Linked DNA regions of Homo sapiens: all the other regions are linked to region 3. The links are contacts of gene promoters, found by promoter capture Hi-C in blood cells and fetal thymus (Javierre and others, 2016). All regions are on one chromosome and are shown on one strand. Each heading gives the region's core, a stretch centred on a gene start or on the middle of the fragment in contact. The rest is flanking DNA. Distances are from core to core; before and after follow the strand shown.

Region 1 (4,293 bases), core at 893-3,392, 1.1 Mb after region 3:
AACAAACCTTGACTGGTTGAGACTCATGCCTCAGTCTCTCATTTCGGCTGACAAAGTATTGAATACTTAGTATGTTCCAGAAACTACCGAGCACCACGAATTAAGACTGACAAAATACTGCTAAAACAAAGACTAAAATTAGTAAACTCAATCCAAGAGTCACTGTCTCCTCTTGACTCCATCATAGAGTGATTTTCCTGCTGCTTGAAATGTAGTATAATGACCTCTCTGGTAAAACTCAAAGTCCAATTCAACCAAGGAATTTGGACTGGAGCTAAATAGTTACCAAACAAGCGAAGAGGGATGGAGAAACGCTGAAATAACAAATTTCAGCTGACTCTTGATCTTCGGATTGGAGTAATAAGGAACAGTGGGTACTACTGAGGCAGGAGAATGGCAGAGGAAGTCAGGGGTGAAGGGGACCCGTTGGACATAGGCTAGCTGAAGCAATACCAAAAGCAAAGCATACAAGATAGCAGAAACAGGACATATGAAATAAGACAGTAAGCAGTAAGAGATACGGGAGTAAGCAATGAGTTAGAACATGCAAGATAAGGAAAATAAGTGGAAAGGGGTTGCAGTAGCAATTTGGTTACAAGAACTAAAAGTAAAGATGAGCAATTTTGTCAGAAAAGATAAAATAAGGTTAAGCAAGGATGCACAATTAGCTTATGAGAAATAAAGTGCGGTTTAGGCACAATGAGGGAAAGGCCAGGATGAGCAATTCACTTACGAAAAACAAAGTAAGGTTAAGCAAGTGAGGAAAAAACATATAAAAGGCCATGAACTATAACAAACTGGGGCTGATACCACTCGCAGGTCAGCCTGATCCGTTGCTGATTGCATTCTGCTTAACAAACTGTTTGCTGCCTTGCTACTTGTATGTGTCATGTCCAATTCTTTGTTGATGGCACTAAGAACCTGGGACTTGACATCAACCAGTTAACACTATGGCAAAGTAGAGGCATACATGCCCTGTCTAAATAGCTGCTACTGCCAGGCACGATGGCTCATGCCTGTAATCCCAGCACTTTGGGAGGCCGAGGCTGGCGGATCACTTGAGGTCAGGGGTTCGAGACCAGCCTGGTCAACATGGTGAAACCCTGTCTCTACTAAAAATACAAAATTAAGCCAGGCGCGGTGGCTCACGCCTGTAATCCCAGCACTTTGGGAGGCCGAGGAGGGCGGATCACGAGGTCAGAAGTTCGAGACCAGCCTGATCAACATGGTGAAACCCCATCTCTACTAAAAATACAAAAATTAGCCGGGCATGGTGGCATGAGCCTGTAGTCCCAGCTACTCAGGAGGGTGAGGCAGGAGAATGGCGTGAACCCGGGAGGCGGGGCTTGCAGTGAGCCGAGATCACACCACTGCACTCCAGCCTGGGTGACAGAGTGAGACTCTGTCTCAAAAAAAAAAAAAATTTTTTTTTGTAGAGATAGGGGTATCACTATGTTGCCTACGCTGGTCTCAAACTCTTGACTTCAAGCTGTCCTCCTGCACTGGCTTCCTAAAGCACTGGGATTACAGGCACTGCACCCAACAGAAGAGGGAAACTTTGAACAGCCCACTCACTCACAGCTCCTGTTTTATGGGAAAATAAGCAACTCTGGAAGGAATGTGAGGTTTATGGAGCGACATTCACTGAATTAAAGGAGAGCGAAAGGACTGGGTGTTTAGCTTCCATCTAGGAACTCTGCAATGGTCATGCGCTATGAACTATGAACCTCCTAACAGGTGAGATTTCTGGATCACTTATAGCTATCCAGGGTCTTGACAGCTGACTCTAGGATTTCTCTTGGGGAGACAGTTACTTGGGAAAATAGCTTGATAAGCTTGGGTTAGAATGGGAAATTACGCAACAAGGCAACAAAAAATATGGCTAACCTGAGGCTAGGCTCAGAGGCTCATGTCTGTAATACCAGCACTTGGGGAGGTTGAGGAGGCCAGATGTTTAAGACCAGCCTGGACAACATAGCAAGATCCTGTCTCTACCAAAAAAAAAAAAAAAAAAGAAAGAAAGAAAAAAGAAAACAACAAGACTGAGTTTTGCCGGTTTCTGTTTTGTTTTTGAGACAGGCCAGGCGAGAGTGCAGTGGCAGGATCACAGCTTACAGCCTCAGCCTCCCAAAGTACTGAGACTACAGGCATGAGCCACCACGCCTAGCATTGCTCTGGTTTTTTGTAGAGGTTGGAGGGAACTGAAAACAGCAAAGATCTGTAGCGCCTTAAAGGTTTCATTAGGGTAGTACCTAGACAGGGCTTGGCCTCCTGGCCAGTAGATTGCCCAGTAAGGATCACTGTGGGGCCACAGGTCAGCTCTCTCCCACCAGAATTTGCATCTGGGGGTCAAAAGCCGCAACTGGATTTCAGGGGTGAGGCTACCACTGCTGGTGACTTCAGTGTTCTCCTCCAGGAAAGCCTTTATCTCAGGGTCCAAAAAGCTTCCAGCTCCTCTCCAGGGACACTGGCCACAGGGAAACAAGAGAAGACCACTGCTTCGCAGAGCCTGCAAGAGGAGACCACAGTGGTTCCTGTGTGCTTTCCAACCTAGACTCAAAGCCATCAGTCCTTTCCCCAAACACAGGTTCTGTCAATGTTCTGTTGATAATAGCTGCTTCTCAAGGAGAATGAACAAGGGTGTGTCTCCCAACTTGATCTCAACCGGAACCTCTGACTCTGAAAAAAAAAAGAAAAGTAATACTGAGAATTCTGAGGAAGAGCAACATTTCTAGATCCTATTACATAATAAGAAAATATTGGCCGGGCGCGGTGGCTCACGCCTGTAATCCCTGCACTTTGGGAGGCCAAGGCGGGTGGATCACGAGGTCAGGTGTTCAAGACCAGTGTGGCCATCATGGTGAAACCCTGTCTCTACTAAAAATACAAAAAATTAGCCAGGCGTGGTGGCGGGTACCTGTAATCTCACTACTTGAGAATTGCTTGAACCCGGGAGGCGGAGGTTGCAGTGTGCCGAGATCGCACCATTGCATTCCAGCCTGGGCAACAAGAGCAAAACTCCGTCTCATAAAAAAAAAAAAGAAATAAAATATTACAGTGTATATTACTGTATCTGATGATTCACATGTGCAAGTTCATTTCAGATGAAAGCTTTGGTGCATCAATTGGGAAAATCCAATCTTTTTAAATGATACTTTTCACAAGAGAATCCTTTTAGTAATTTAACACAACAAATATACAAGCATTTGATTTTGAAAGAATCCTCAAGAAAATGCCTCTTACAGGAAATCAGCCATACAGTCATCCTTCAGTATCCTCAAGTGATTGGTTCCGGTATCCCCTGCTTCCAGGATACCACAATCAGAGGATACTCAAGTCCCTTATATAAAATGGCATCATATTTGTATATAAACTAGGCATATGCTGTGGTATACTTTACTTTAAATCATCTCTGGATGACTCATAATACTTAATACAACGTAAATGCTATATAAGTAGTTGTTACACTATTTTTGTGTTATTTTTATTGTTGTAATTTTATATTGCTATATTGTTATATTGTGGGCCAACTGTACCTTTAAAGTTCTTTCATAAATTTAACAAAGTAGGCATGCTTGGTAACTGTGAACAAAATAACAGAAGTCTTCTGTCTTCAGGAAGCTTATATTCTAGTGGTGGGATAAAGCAGTTAACAGGGCAAACACAGTTTTTGCCTTTATGAAGTCTAGCCAAGAGTTCTGGGGGTTAATGAATTTATAATTGTCTGTGGGCAGAGATATATTAATACAAATTATATTGACTACTCTATTTCATTAAAGATTGTTGTATCATAAAACAATGCAATCAAGATTCAGGTTTTTTCCTTTAAAAATACTGTATGCATTTAATTGTAATAAAAGAACATCAACTCCTAAATCTCTTTCTGTAAAAGTATCTGATGGTTCGATTTTACCAAGCCTAAACTGAAAAGATTTGCTCCAACAGAAAAACACCTGTGCAATTGATCACTAAGATTTGTTTAAAAATATATATATATAGAAAAACACCCGGATTAGAATAAATGAGAATGAGGAACAACTTAAACACAACTTATACACCCAGTTGTTTGGGGACCTCGGATCTCTTCTGCATAAATGTTTTAAATGGTCTTAAATCCACTAAAGTATTTAGGGGTCAAAAATCCAAATCCCCACAAGGGGCTGGACATCATAAATGAGTGATGCAGGCTGGCTGTAAAATAACAGAGGGGCTGTGGCAAGCTGGAGACTGTTTTCAAACAGTTCAAAAAGGCTAGGCAGGACATGCTGCCAGATCCTCCGATTTCTCAAAATC
Region 2 (4,241 bases), core at 1,638-4,137, 1.2 Mb after region 3:
CTAATTATTATTTTATTGATTTTTTTTTTTTTTTTTTTTTTTTAGTAGAGACGGAGTTTCACCATGTTGGCCAGGCTTGTCTCAAACTCCTGACCTCAAGTGAGCCTCTCGCCTTGGCCTCCGAAAGGACTGGGATTACAGGCTTGAGCCACTGCACCCGGCCTCATTTTATTTTTATAGAGACAGGGTCTCTCACTATTTTGCCCAGGTTGGTCTTGAATTCCTGGACTCAAATGCTCCTCCTGCCTTGGCCTCTCAAAGTGCTGGGATTACAGGCCTGAGCCACCATGGCCAGCCTCTTTCATTTCAAAATTGAAGAAAGAAAGTGAAGATACAAGCTACATTAAATGATGGTATGCACGCACATGTATCTTCTAGGAAGAACATTATTCAGTCAAATAATCGAGGTTCTCTCAGGCAACCTCTCTGGAAGGTTTGCTTGTATGTCTAGTGGTAGATGCCCCAAATCCCCAAAGAAGAAAGCAGGGAGTGGTGTGGAAGGGGTTGCCATGTGGAGATGAATTGCATTCAGTTTTCTATCTTTTAAGTTTTATTTTTACTTACATGGCCGGGCACAGTGGCTTATTATGCCTGTAATCCTAGCACATTTGGGGGCCAAGGCGGGAGGATCACTTGAACCCAGGAGTTTGAGAGCAGCCTGGTCAATACAGTGAGACCCTGTCTCTTAAAAAATTATTTTTTAAATAAATAAATGTTATTTTTTTACTTAGATGGAGACAGAGTCTCCCTCTATTGCCCAGGCTGGTCTTGAACTCCTGGTCTCATGTGATCTTCCTACCTGGGCTTCCCAAAGTGTTGAGTAAATTACAGGTGTGAGCCACTGAGCCCAGCCAGTTTTCTTTCAAAGGAAAAAGAACTGGTTGTCGAGTTCCTTCCGAGAAGGCAAAAGACAGCTGAGCAGGGCAAGAAAGCCGTGCCTTTGGGAGGAGCAGAGTTCATGGTCTAATTCCTGTTGCTTTAGCCTCCGATTGTTACTTGCGGGGAGAGCCGATAACATCGGATGGGTACAGGGCTGCGGAACTGGAGCGCCTTGGCTATTTACACTGACCTGGAAAATGTCAGGATAAATGACAGAAGGCGGGGGTTGGTGACTGCACTCCTTCTAGAAGTCTCAACGCTTTGTGGGTATTGAGTTGTGTTTTTTCCCCCTCACGGTTGACTTGTCACTAAGTCACTAAGGATGGCCTGTAAATGGGGTGACGGCTGGGGGAAGGGAGGACCTTAAAGTGAGACAGGCACCCCCACACAGGTCACAGTTTAAAAGACGATGGTTCAGACCGTTATGCGAAATGATCTCAGAGCGGCTGTTCACCTTCCCCAAAGCTGCATTAAAAGAAATAAGGATGGGTGACAACCCCTTTAGAAGACAGACCCCCACACTGAGGCTAGCCCTCTTATCGGCTGGCCAGGGCGAGGAGGGGTGTGTGCAGGGTCGCCCTCGATGCCGCAGCCGGGGCCAGTGGGCACGAATGCGGCCCCACGCCAGGCTTGGCCTCCGAACCCGCTAGGCGCGCGCGCACGGTAGAAGCGCGCGCCTCCGTCCCTCGCGAGCGCGCCCCCCACCCCTCTCCGTCGCACGCGCCGAGCCCCGGCGCCCCCGCCCGCCCCGCGCTCCCACAGCCCGAGCGCCGCTCAGCTGACCCGCGGGCGCCAGACGCGGCGGCTCTCAGCTCGCGAGCGCAGCTGCGGCTGCGAGGGCCTCTCAGGCCGACACTCCCCCCGCGCCCCTCCCCCACCCGGCCGGGCTCCGGACCCGCCGCGCGCGAGCCCGCGGCCGCTTCCCCCGCGCCGAGCGAGGAGGCAGGCTGCGGCGGCGAGAGGCGGCTGCGCGGCCATGGGCGCGCCAGTGTCGCCCTAGGGCGGGCGCACAGACCACAGCCGGAGCGGTGGTGGCAGCCTCCGCAGAAAGCCTTCCCGGGCGGCGGCGGCGGCGGCCCCTGGAGCAGCGCGGCCGGGATGAGCGGGAGCTGCGCGGCGCCCGGCCCGGGCTCGGGCTCCTCCCCGGCCGCCTGCCGCTTCGCGCACTACTTCGTGCTGTGCGGGATCGACGCGGACAGCGGGCTGGAGCCTGACGAGCTGGCGGGTAAGGCCAGGGCTGCGGCGGCGCTGAGCCCCCTCAGGGGCGCGGGGGACGCTGTGGGGACGCGCGGGAGGCGGGGTGCAGGCTCCAGACAAAGTCAGCTCCCGGTGGCGCCCTCCCGCCGCTTTCTGGCCGAACTGGCGCTCGGGCGCGATTTAATGACATTGTTATTTATTCCGCGTGCGGGCTTTGCGGCTGCGCCCACCGGGGCTTTCGCCTCCAGGCGCTGGGTTATTAATAACAGGCGCGGGGGTGGCCCCAAGGGCACGGACCCCGCCTGGCGCGCCGGCCCCTTCGCTTGCAGCCGCACTCGGAGGCGGCCGGTGAGTCACCGGGCGCGCGGGCTGCCCCCCGACCGCCGTGCCTGCCTCCCACCCGCCAGCCACCCGGCCCCGGCCGCGAAGTTTCGGCCCCGCACGTGACGCGGCTTTCGGGCCTCTTCGGGAGACGGGGAGTCGGACTCAGCTCGGCTCCCGCCGGGGTAGCGTCCGCGGAGGAGCCGGTGGCCGTGCGGAGCGAGCGCGGGGCGGGGACCGGTCGGACTCTGCCCTCTGCGCCGCCTGCCGCTCTGCGGTGCCGGCCAAGTCACCTTTTGGAATCCTGTGGATTTGGCCGCGTCTGGGAGCTGGCAGGGACCTTTGGACGCTCGGGACCCAGCACCGCGCTTTGTTGACACTGCCTACACTGTTCCCGAGTTTAAATTCAGTTGGGTGCACCGTGTGTTAGTGCCTGGTTTTCCCGGAGGGGTACCGGTCCTTCCGCTTGACTCATTTGATGGCGCAGTGCGGGGCTGTGCTGGGCAAACGACGCCGTTAAAAGGGGCCGCTAAAGGGCGATGGGCGGGGGCAGGGCAGCGGAGTGCGCAGTGTCGAGAGGAGGCCGGGGAGAAACAACTGATTTCATTTTTCACGCCTGTTCCTTTCTGCTTGCCTCCGCGGGATCTGAATCTTGATTTGTTGTTGTTGTTAAATGGGTGAGAGAAGTGACATCTACCGCCTGAACTTTGTGTTAAAGACTTAGGTCATAGCCTTTCAGAACAACTTCCTTTGGACAAATAATTCCTTATTGATTGCACTAACGTAAATTTTTCGCTTTTCCTTTGGTGGGGGTGGGGAGACTGGGAAGAATATATTAAATAATAAACAATAGTAAACAAAACTGTTCAGCCTTAAAATACAGTCCCCATCAACCCACGTCTTGGCTATCTTCTTCTTAACTCAGCTTCAGAGCAAAACATTTTCTTTTTTTCATATTCTTCGGAGGTAGAAACACAAAACATTTTCAACAAAAACTGTAAGTCTAGTTTTAGTTAAAAAAAAATTTGGAGAGATAATAGAATACCAAGTTTTTCCGTATGTGTAATTATGTAATCACATTGTTTCTTCAACTAAGATTTCATGTACATGTTAAGAATGGCTTTGTTAAAGGATATGAAGAAAAAATGTCTGCAGAGAGATTTGGAGAGATTCTTCTCGAGATTGGTGAAGGAATATTGTTATTTTTCTAGACTCCTTTCTTCCCTAAAGATCCTAAACATTTGTGGCACCAGGGTCACTTGGAGGCCTTCTGTCAGTGATGACTAATGAAAGGAAAAAAGCCTGTATTTTTCTTTTCCGTTTGCCTACTGAAGCTAAAACTGTACCTTTTAGGTGTGACCTAGGACTCTTTAGGCACAGAGAGAATGATGTTAACAAAACCATCAATTAGACTTTAATGCATTTTTAAGAAACAAACTATGATGTCTCTTTTTGCAAAACTGTGTGAGTGTGGGTGATTGGGATTTCTGCTTCTCATAATATTTAATGTATTCAGGTAATAATGTATTTTGCCTTGTAATATTTCAGTATCATTCATCCAACAGTTTTGAAAGCATCTATCTGTAGTCGGTTTTTTAGGCACTGGGGACAGCTGTGAAGAAAGCAGTCAGAAATCCCTGCCATCATGGAGCATACGTTCTAGTGTAAAGAGATAATGAAAATACAATCATCTCTCCGTAACCATGGGGGATGGATTCTAGAGTGTCCCCCACACCAAAATCCTCGGATGCTGAAGTCTCTTATAATAAAATGTTGTAGCATTTGTATATAACCTATGAACATTTTCCTGTACACTTTGTCATCTCTAGATTACTTACAATACC
Region 3 (4,212 bases), core at 216-2,715:
AAAAAAAAACACTGAAGATCAACAGGTTATGATTGCAAATTTTAAGATATTTTGAACACACTATTTTCTTAAGCAGTTGGGAGTATGTTTAATAGCCTATTGAATGAGTATCTCAAAATCCTATTGAAGTTACTATTTGGCAATGAGAAACTAATTCACTGATAATTATACATGCAAAGAAACTAATTATTAAAATAAGTTTTCATTTTGTTAGATAACTTTATAACGTTAAAAAATGGAAAAGTCCTGTAGGGAATGATTTGGAACATGGCCCAGATCCCAGTCACAGGACCAAGGCACTCAATCCCCCAGCTGCTGGGAGTGTTGGTTGCTTATTGCTCACAGCTGAGTCCCTTCCTGCACATCTCACTCTCCAAAAGCCTTAACCCAGCGTTTTGCTTCCTCCCCAGAAACATCCCACATTTAATGAGCAGTCAGTAAGAGGGTCTAAAGGTCTGCCCCCTGGCCTCAATTCAGGATGACTCTGAAAGGAAATCCCGGCTCCAGAGCCCTTACTGGATTGCCTGAGGCCTCTATTACAAATTGTTCACAGTTCAACTTCTTTCTCCCTCCGCCCAACCCGGCCTCCCTCACTCCATTATAGGTGTTGTTCTTAAGAGCACACTCCAATTACCCTCCTGCAAACCAGTCTCCCCCCCAACTCAGAGTCCAGGGAATTCTACCTAAGACGATTTTGAAAGCGGTCCTAGAAATCAGGCTCTAACATGGGATTTTGAAGCTAGATCACCTGCCAGCCAGCTGCCAATAAGAACCTCATCCCTGGTCAGTATTCAGAGCACCTGTCACGCTGCACGATGTGATTACTAACTTGAATCCACTCATGCTAAGCTGTGTCCCAACCTAGTTAACTGTATTTAAAATAAATAAACCACAGGACTTGATGCATGTACTTTATTGCACTGAGTTTTTCTTGCTATACCTTGGACAAGACTGCCACCTCCTGGAAGAGCCGATGAATACTGGGGACGAGGTGCAATTAGGGAATCGGTACTATGAAATTGCTTGCGTCTCAGCAGCAACTCCCTATCTCTCCGCGAACTTAAACCAATTCCTAACCTTTCTCAACCTCTGTGAACAGCTTTTTGCATGGAACCAAGACTTCAAAGAACTTGCGCATCACAATCTTTTTACGTGAAAATGTAAATACAAGTTAGCATTTGTGAAGCGTTATGTGCCAAATGCTTTAATTTTTAAGGCTCACAACAGCCTTATGAGGTAGGAACTATCATAAGCAGATCCACACTGCTGATGGAAAAATTAAGTTTAAGGGAACGTAAGGCGACGGCTCTGAGGCGGAATCGCCACTTGGAGTCGGGACTCAACTGCTGAGAGCGCAAGCTCCGTAACTACGTAACCGTCTCGGGCATGCGCAGAAAAACACTGAAGCACCTTCCCTAGGAGCTGTAAGTAGGTGGGTGTGGTGGGAGCCTCTGCAATCCCAGCATTCCCTTCGTGCCGCTACCAAGATGGCGGCGCCCATCTTGCGGTCCTTTTCCTGGGGCCGGTGGTCTGGTACCCTAAATCTCTCAGTATTGTTGCCCTTGGGGCTGCGTAAGGCCCACTCGGGCGCTCAGGGGTTACTGGCAGCGCAGAAGGCTCGAGGTCTGTTCAAGGACTTCTTCCCGGAGACGGGGACGAAAATAGAGCTCCCAGAGCTCTTCGACCGTGGCACGGCGAGTTTTCCCCAAACCATTTACTGTGGCTTCGACCCCACGGCAGACTCGCTTCATGTGGGTCATCTACTTGCGCTGCTGGGCCTGTTTCATTTGCAGCGAGCGGGCCACAACGTGATCGCGCTGGTGGGAGGCGCCACGGCGCGCCTGGGAGACCCGAGCGGCCGTACCAAGGAACGCGAGGCGCTGGAGACAGAGCGCGTGCGAGCCAACGCGCGAGCTCTGCGCCTAGGGCTTGAGGCCCTGGCGGCTAATCACCAGCAGCTTTTCACTGATGGGCGCTCCTGGGGCAGCTTCACTGTGCTGGACAACTCGGCCTGGTACCAGAAGCAGCACCTGGTGGACTTCCTGGCGGCAGTGGGGGGTCACTTCCGCATGGGGACGCTGCTGAGCCGGCAGAGCGTGCAGCTGCGGCTCAAGAGCCCCGAGGGCATGAGCTTGGCCGAGTTCTTTTACCAGGTGCTCCAGGCCTATGACTTCTATTACCTCTTCCAGCGTTATGGATGCAGGGTCCAGCTGGGCGGATCTGATCAACTAGGCAACATCATGTCCGGATATGAGTTCATCAACAAGTAAGTGCCTTTAAACCTTGGGGAAATCCTGGGACCAAATAATTTACACACTAGTAGCCTGTGATTCACTCTTAGGATTGTAGTTGCTGCCCTTCGTTCCAGCTCTTGTTGGTTTTATCCCCATTAAGGCTCTATAATGGCGTTAATAACACTGGCTAATAAGAATTAAAGGGCTGAATTAAGGGTATTAAGAGTAAACGGTGTATTCTAAAAATTAGCTGGGCGTGGTGATGCACGCCTGTAATCCCAGCTATTCGGGAGGCTGAGGCAGGAGAATCTCTTGAACCCGGGAGGCGAAGGTTTCAGTGAGCCGAGATCGCGCCACTGCACTCCAGCCTGGGGCAACAGAGGGAGACTCCGTCTCAAAAAAAAAAAAAAAAAAAAGGGAAACAGACCACTAGTGAAGATTTGGTCGGTCTGTTTTGCTTCGCCTAAGTCGTCCTCTCTAATTAGAGAAACTGCTTTTGTGTGTTTATACCAGAACGTGACTGGGCCTCCTTGAGTAGCTAGCCTCTGCTTTAGCTCTGCACCCTCCATGAAACTAGTGTTAGTCCTTGGTTGGTATCTCAAAAAGTTTTTTCAACTCCAAATAATTGACAAGTAATGCGGGTCTAATAGCATTTTCTTGAGAGAGGTGAAGGATAGGGCTAGCTCATGTGCAACAGAGCAAAGCACATGTTTAAAAGGCGTTTAGAAGATTTCCTTTAGTGTCTCTTCCTGACACCCCTTCACCCAGTTTTCTCCTTCCCACTCAGCCTTTCAAAATCTCTAGTCCATTGTTATGTAGCACTTCCCCTTGGCCTGCCTAGAACCTGCCTGGAACCACTCATGAGGTTCAGAATGAATAGAGTAAGTACTGTAACAATACATAAGAGGAACAAGAATTCAGATTTAGGAGGTCAAGGAAGTTTTCCTGGAGCAAGTAACCAGAAAGAAATCTGGAAGGTGAACAGTAGAACCTACCACCACTTGTGCTTGAGGCACATAATGAAATTGTTCTTTATGCGTAGGTTGACTGGAGAAGATGTATTTGGAATCACCGTTCCTCTAATTACAAGTACAACTGGAGCAAAGCTGGGAAAGTCTGCTGGCAACGCTGTTTGGCTAAACAGAGATAAGACATCTCCATTTGAATTGTATCAATTCTTTGTCAGGCAACCGGACGATTCAGTGGAAAGGTGAGTTCTGAATAATGGGCTGAGAAAAACTGACACCATAAACTCATGATGTAATTTTAGCCATTGAATCTATGTACATTTTATAGTTTTTTTGTTTTTAACGTAGTTTCTGTCTGTACATAAACCATTACATCATAGAAGACTAATTTTTACTGTGTTCTAAAGTTAAACACTTTGTTGGTTAAAGCAGAAAAACAGTGGGTGGCTAGAAAATGTAGAGCCAACTTTTTGATCTGTATCTAGCAAGTTCTTAGGATTTTATCACCTGCATATTCTAGTTTTTTCACTCCTTTCAACTTAACCTTGACTACCCTTATTTTTCCTTTGTCTCTCTTCTCTCACAAATATGACTTTAAAGATCCTCTTAAGAAATGATTTCTCCTTAAATCAAATTGCCTTAAACTCTTGGAAGAATATGAATTAATGAGAAACAAATATACCTGCAACAAAAAGTGAAAAAAATATTTTGATGCTCTGTAACATCAAAGTAATCTAGGAATAATTCTTTAAGACTTAAAAGGTATATGACTTTCCTGCAAAATATTAAAAGATGCTATTGAGCAAAATAAAGACCTACATAAATGGAGAGTTAGACCATATTCATAGTACAAAAATAATATCAGTTCTTTTTTGTATTTTTTGAAACAGAATCTCACTCCCATTGCCCAGGCTAGAGTGTAGTGACGCAGTCTTGGCTCACTGTAGCCTGAAATTCCCAGGCTCAGGTGCACACCACCATGCCCAGCTAATTTTGTATTTTTTTTTTAG
Region 4 (4,439 bases), core at 828-3,327, 1.1 Mb after region 3:
TGGCCAGGGGGCCTCTCACAATTCCTGCTCCCACCTCATCCTGTAGCAAAAGAAGCACTTTCTTCCACTTCCTTATTGGTTCTGTGAGGGTTAATTCTATGTGTCAGCTTGACTGGGTTGCAATGTGTTCAGACAGTTAGTCAAACATTCCTCTGGGTGTTCCTCTGAGGGTATTTCTGAAAGAGATGAACATTTGAGCCCGGGCGTGGTGTCTCACGCCTGTAATCCGAACACTTTGGGAGGCTGAAGGAGGTGGATCACCTGGGGTCAGGAGTTTGAGAACAGCCTGGCCAACATGATGAAACCCCATCTCTACTAAAAATACAAAAAATTAACCGGGCGTGGTCGACAGTGTCCCCTGGCACCGCTGTATGTGCAGCAACAGATAGGTAAAATCTAAGGTTTTAGGACAGATGTGTGAAGGCTGCTGGTGAATGGATGGGACCAGGACAAAGAGGGTACCTCAAGTACAAGGTGCTCTTTGATCAAGCCAAGGACCATTACGGGTTGCAGGGTTGTTTCCCTCCCGGTCAGCCCTGACAGCTAAAGGGACATCATTTATGCCAGTGCTCCAAGCCACCCTTCAGCTCTTTTGGTTAAACCAACATGTATGGCTCTGGGCTGGGCATGGTGGTGCACGCCTATAATCTCAGCAGTTTGGGAAGCCGAGGCGGGAGGATTGCTTGAGCCCAGGAGTTTGAGGCTAGCCTGGGCAACATAGCGAAACCCCAACTCTACAAAAAAATACAAAAATTAGCCGGGTGTGGTGGAGTGCACCTGTAATCCCACCTACTTGGGGGCTGAGGTGTGAGGCTCACTTGGGCTTGGGCAGATGAATGTGCAGTGAGCTGTGATCATGCCACTGCACTCCAGGCTGGGTGACAGAGGGAGACCCTGTCTCAAAAAAAAAAAAAAAAAAATGTATGGCTCTGGCATTTTTCACGTTTGCTGAAGCATGTTCCTTGGGGGCATAATGAGAACACAGGAACCTTGTCTATAATGCATAATGACCATCGGAGGAAAGAATCCCCAGCTAGCTCCATTGTCAGCAACTATCAAGAACCTGCTAGGGGGCCAGGTGCGGTGTCTCATGCCTGTAATCTCAGCACTTTGGGAGGCCGACGCAGGCGGATCACTTGAGGTCAGGAGTTCGAAACCAGCCTGGCCAACATGATGAAACTCCGTCTCTACTAGAAAAAATATAAAAATTGTCCAGGTGCGGTGGCTCACGCTTATAATCCCAGCACTTTGGGAGGCCGAGGTGGATGGATCACTTGAGGTCAGCAGTTCAAGACCAGGCTGGCCAAAATGGTGAAACCCTGTCTCTACTAAAAATACAAAAATTAGCTGGGCGTGGTGGCATGCCCCTGTAATCCCAGCTACATGGGAGGCTGAGGCAGGAGAATCGCTTGAACCCAGGAGGCAGAGTTTACAGTGAGCTGAGATCGCACCACTGCACTCCAGCCTGGGTGACAGAACAAGAGTCCGTCTCAAACAAACAAAAACGAAAAACAAAAATTAGCCCTGTGTGGTGGTGTGTGCCTGTAGTCCCAGCTACTCAGGAGGCTGAGGCAGGAGAATTGCTTGAACCCGGGAGGCAGAGGTTGCAGTGAGCTGAGATCACGCCACTGCACTCCAGCCTGGGCAACAGAGTGAGACTCCATCTCAGAAAAAAAAAAAAAAATTTGTGGGAGAAACAAAAATGAATAAGACTTCGGTCCTACCTTCATGGAGTTTTAATATGAATCTGAGTAGTTTCAAAATATGCCTAATGAGACTCAAAATAATCCATATGTCACAGAATGAATTCTGTTAAAGGGCAGAACAGAGTGGCTCTAAAGTCAATCTGTTCCACCACTTACTAGCTCTGTGAGCTTGATTAAGTGCCGTAACCTCTCTGTGCTTCGGTGAATTTGTCTATAAGATGAGAGAACAAGGCCGGGCACGGTGGCTCACACCTGTAATCCCAGCACTTTGGGAGGCCGAGGTGGGTGTATTGCTTGAGCTCAAGAGTTTGAGACCAGCCTGGGCAACATGGCGACACCCCATCTCTACTAAAAGTACAAAACAAAATAAAATTGAAAAATGAGAGAACAAGAAGTACCTACTTCATAGGTTGTGGTGAGGATTAAATGAGTCAATGCCTATAAACTTCTTAAAGCAAGGCCTGGAACATAGAAAATGTTCTATTAATATTAATAATAATTATTATTTAAACTATCAACAAATATTGTGTCTCTGCATGAGACGTAACAACCAAGAGTTTTATAAAGGTGGCACAAGGATACCTCATCTCTTGGTTATTTTGGGAGTCGGAAACATTGTAATGGAGACACTTAGTTTCCAGGCTCTCAAACAAAAGGTTCTCTAAGCCGTGTTATCACTTGAGAGTTGCATGTTTTCAGTTTAAAGACAAATTTAAGACCATTCTATTGTAATAACCGAAAATTAAATGGCACACTGATAAAAAGAGAACCAGCAGCGTTTTATTTACCTTGAAAGGTGGTAATTTAAGAAAAACAGGGGAGATTTTAACAGGATGAAGAGGAATATAAAAATTTGTGACAAGATGAAAAGAAATATCGGGGTACTTGAAAGGTTTTAGAGGTTGAGACTCAAGTATTTTTTTTAGAAAGTCTTATTTCACCCTGGGACTTACATGACTTTTTTTCCCCAGCCATTACTAGAAGGGGTTTTGCACCTCCACACGGTATTAAAAGCGACAGAAGAGGACAAAAGGAAGATATGTATACAGGAGGGAGAAATAAATTATGTGCAATGGAATTAACTCAGCTTTAAGAAATAAGGGCAGGATGGAGAGTCTTCAAAAGGAAATATAAAATATTCCCAGCAGTCCGGGACCTCTATACCTTCAATGATCGTGTTACCGGAAAAGGGATCTCTATCCAGACCCCAAGAGAACGTTCTTGGATCTCGAGCAGGAGGGACTTCAAAACGAGTCACAGAGTGCAGTGAAAGAAGCAACGTTATTAGAAACTACACTGTTAGAGTAGGGCATCCTCAGAAAGCAAGAGGAGGAACGCCTCGACTTTGTTTTTTGTTTTTCTTCTCTAGAGATCTTGTCTATATAAAGGCTAAGCTAAGCTGTGTCCACGTGTGGGTGAGCAGACAGCATGACAGAATGTATGACTACTGATTTAAAGAAAACTGGCCTTGACATTCTAGTGTGTGGATACATCAAAGCAAAACTATTATTATCTTGAAAACAGAGATTGTTATGGGTATTGGACATCTGGACTCTTGGCTGTAGTAGGAGTGTGTCCTTGTAGGTATCTTTAGGCTGTTTCTTCCACTGTAAACAGCCCATGAATGTGGGTCGTGACCAGCAGAGAATGGGCTTTACTATTTCTCAAGATGGAGCTGAACTTAAAATGGTGCTACTCTGGCCCTCCTAGGCTCCTGGTTCCCTAACATTACCCCCACTAATTTTGAGGGAACCCTTAATCTTTTTGTTTTGTTTTGTTTTTTTGAGACAGGGTCTCGCTCTGCCACCCAGGCTAGAGTGTGGTGGTGCGATCTTGGCTCACTGCAGCCTCTGCTTCCCGGGCTCAAGTGATTCTCGTGCCTCATCCTCCCAAGTATCTGGGATTACAAGCATGCGCCACTATGCCCAGCTAAGAGAGCCCTTAATTTTAAGAGGAGAGGAGGGTGAAGGTCATTCTTCTGTAACTTCTTCCTGCTGATAGTGGACATCGATTGCTGGGACAGGGTCCTTTCACGAAAGCATGCAGTGAGCCTCCTCAGGGAGCCAGGTGGTTCCTTGCTTGAGCAATGTCCCAATAGTTCCTATAAAGGTAAAATATGAAATGAGTAAATAGATGGGCAAAGAAGTTGCTGAGCTATTTTATCTTGCAAACCTACACAAGTGCAACAGAAGTAAAAAGCACAGCAATTTATAATAACGAGTATTACAATACCAAGCATGCTGAAAAGAAATGCTTTCCAAGTACTGGATAGCTAACAAACCAGGCCATTATGGGGCCTTGAGACAGAGAATTAATGCTGTAATGTGAGTTTCCAAGGAACTCATAGCCTGGGATACATTATGGGAATACTCAGGAATATAAATACAACATTCAGTTTTGATCAGGGCAAAAATTCCCCCTTGGGCTGCAGTTAAAATGTCTAAAGCCATACAGTTTTGTAGAGCCATTTGTCTTATTTGGTAAGTCTCTTCTGTCAGAAGGGTGATAGCCTGGTAAGTATTTTTTTTTTTTTGAGACGGAGTCTCGCTCTGTTCCCCAGGCTGGAGTGCAGTGGTGTGGTCTCAGCCCACTGCAAGCTCTGCCTCCCAGGTTCACACCATTCTCCTGCCTCAGCCTCCCGAGTAGCTGGGACTACAGGCGCCCGCCACCATGCCTGGCTAATTTTTTGTATTTTTAGTAGAGACGGGGTTTCACCATGTTAGCCAGGATGGT

Evidence for each region. The method cuts DNA at HindIII sites, captures the fragments that hold promoters and counts their contacts. A CHiCAGO score of 5 or more calls a contact.
Region 1: a contact is called between a fragment that was not itself captured here and the fragment with the promoter of YARS2 in region 3, in 2 of 17 cell types (naive CD8 T cells and total CD4 T cells). The highest score is 5.5, in naive CD8 T cells.
Region 2: the fragment with the promoter of DENND5B-AS1 here is called in contact with the fragment with the promoter of YARS2 in region 3 in 3 of 17 cell types (activated CD4 T cells, fetal thymus and naive CD8 T cells); the score reaches 5.4 in activated CD4 T cells.
Region 4: a contact is called between a fragment that was not itself captured here and the fragment with the promoter of YARS2 in region 3, in 4 of 17 cell types (total CD4 T cells, naive CD8 T cells, total CD8 T cells and 1 more). The highest score is 8.9, in total CD4 T cells.

What each region holds. Positions count from the first base shown.
Region 1 is chr12:31,660,227-31,664,519 of GRCh38, reverse strand. ETFBKMT (electron transfer flavoprotein subunit beta lysine methyltransferase) reads right to left here. Exons shown (of 4, transcript NM_001135863.2): 2 at 2,253-2,679. The coding sequence starts at 2,566. Among named protein-coding and RNA genes, the nearest start is that of ETFBKMT, 2.7 kb to the right of the region's middle. RefSeq lists an enhancer at 2,318-2,437. The HindIII fragment of the contact is 609 bases long and covers 1,838-2,446 here.
Region 2 is chr12:31,588,569-31,592,809 of GRCh38, reverse strand. DENND5B-AS1 (DENND5B antisense RNA 1) reads right to left here and starts at 2,887. Exons shown (of 3, transcript NR_046909.1): 1 at 2,691-2,887. It overlaps DENND5B (DENN domain containing 5B), which reads left to right and starts at 1,674. Exons shown (of 21, transcript NM_144973.4): 1 at 1,674-2,104. The coding sequence starts at 1,978. RefSeq lists enhancers at 864-1,093, 3,074-3,153 and silencers at 1,524-1,813, 1,884-2,153, 2,304-2,643. The HindIII fragment of the contact is 7,998 bases long and covers 1-4,241 here.
Region 3 is chr12:32,753,150-32,757,361 of GRCh38, reverse strand. It overlaps YARS2 (tyrosyl-tRNA synthetase 2), which reads left to right and starts at 1,465. Exons shown (of 5, transcript NM_001040436.3): 1 at 1,465-2,266; 2 at 3,277-3,444. The coding sequence starts at 1,488. RefSeq lists enhancers at 606-1,245, 1,450-1,679, 1,700-1,799, 1,246-1,885, 2,170-2,329 and 1 more. The HindIII fragment of the contact is 6,832 bases long and covers 1-4,212 here.
Region 4 is chr12:31,640,494-31,644,932 of GRCh38, reverse strand. The region is part of intron 1 of LOC124902913 (a long non-coding RNA gene); the gene reads left to right. Among named protein-coding and RNA genes, the nearest start is that of ETFBKMT, 17 kb to the left of the region's middle. The HindIII fragment of the contact is 8,322 bases long and covers 1-4,439 here.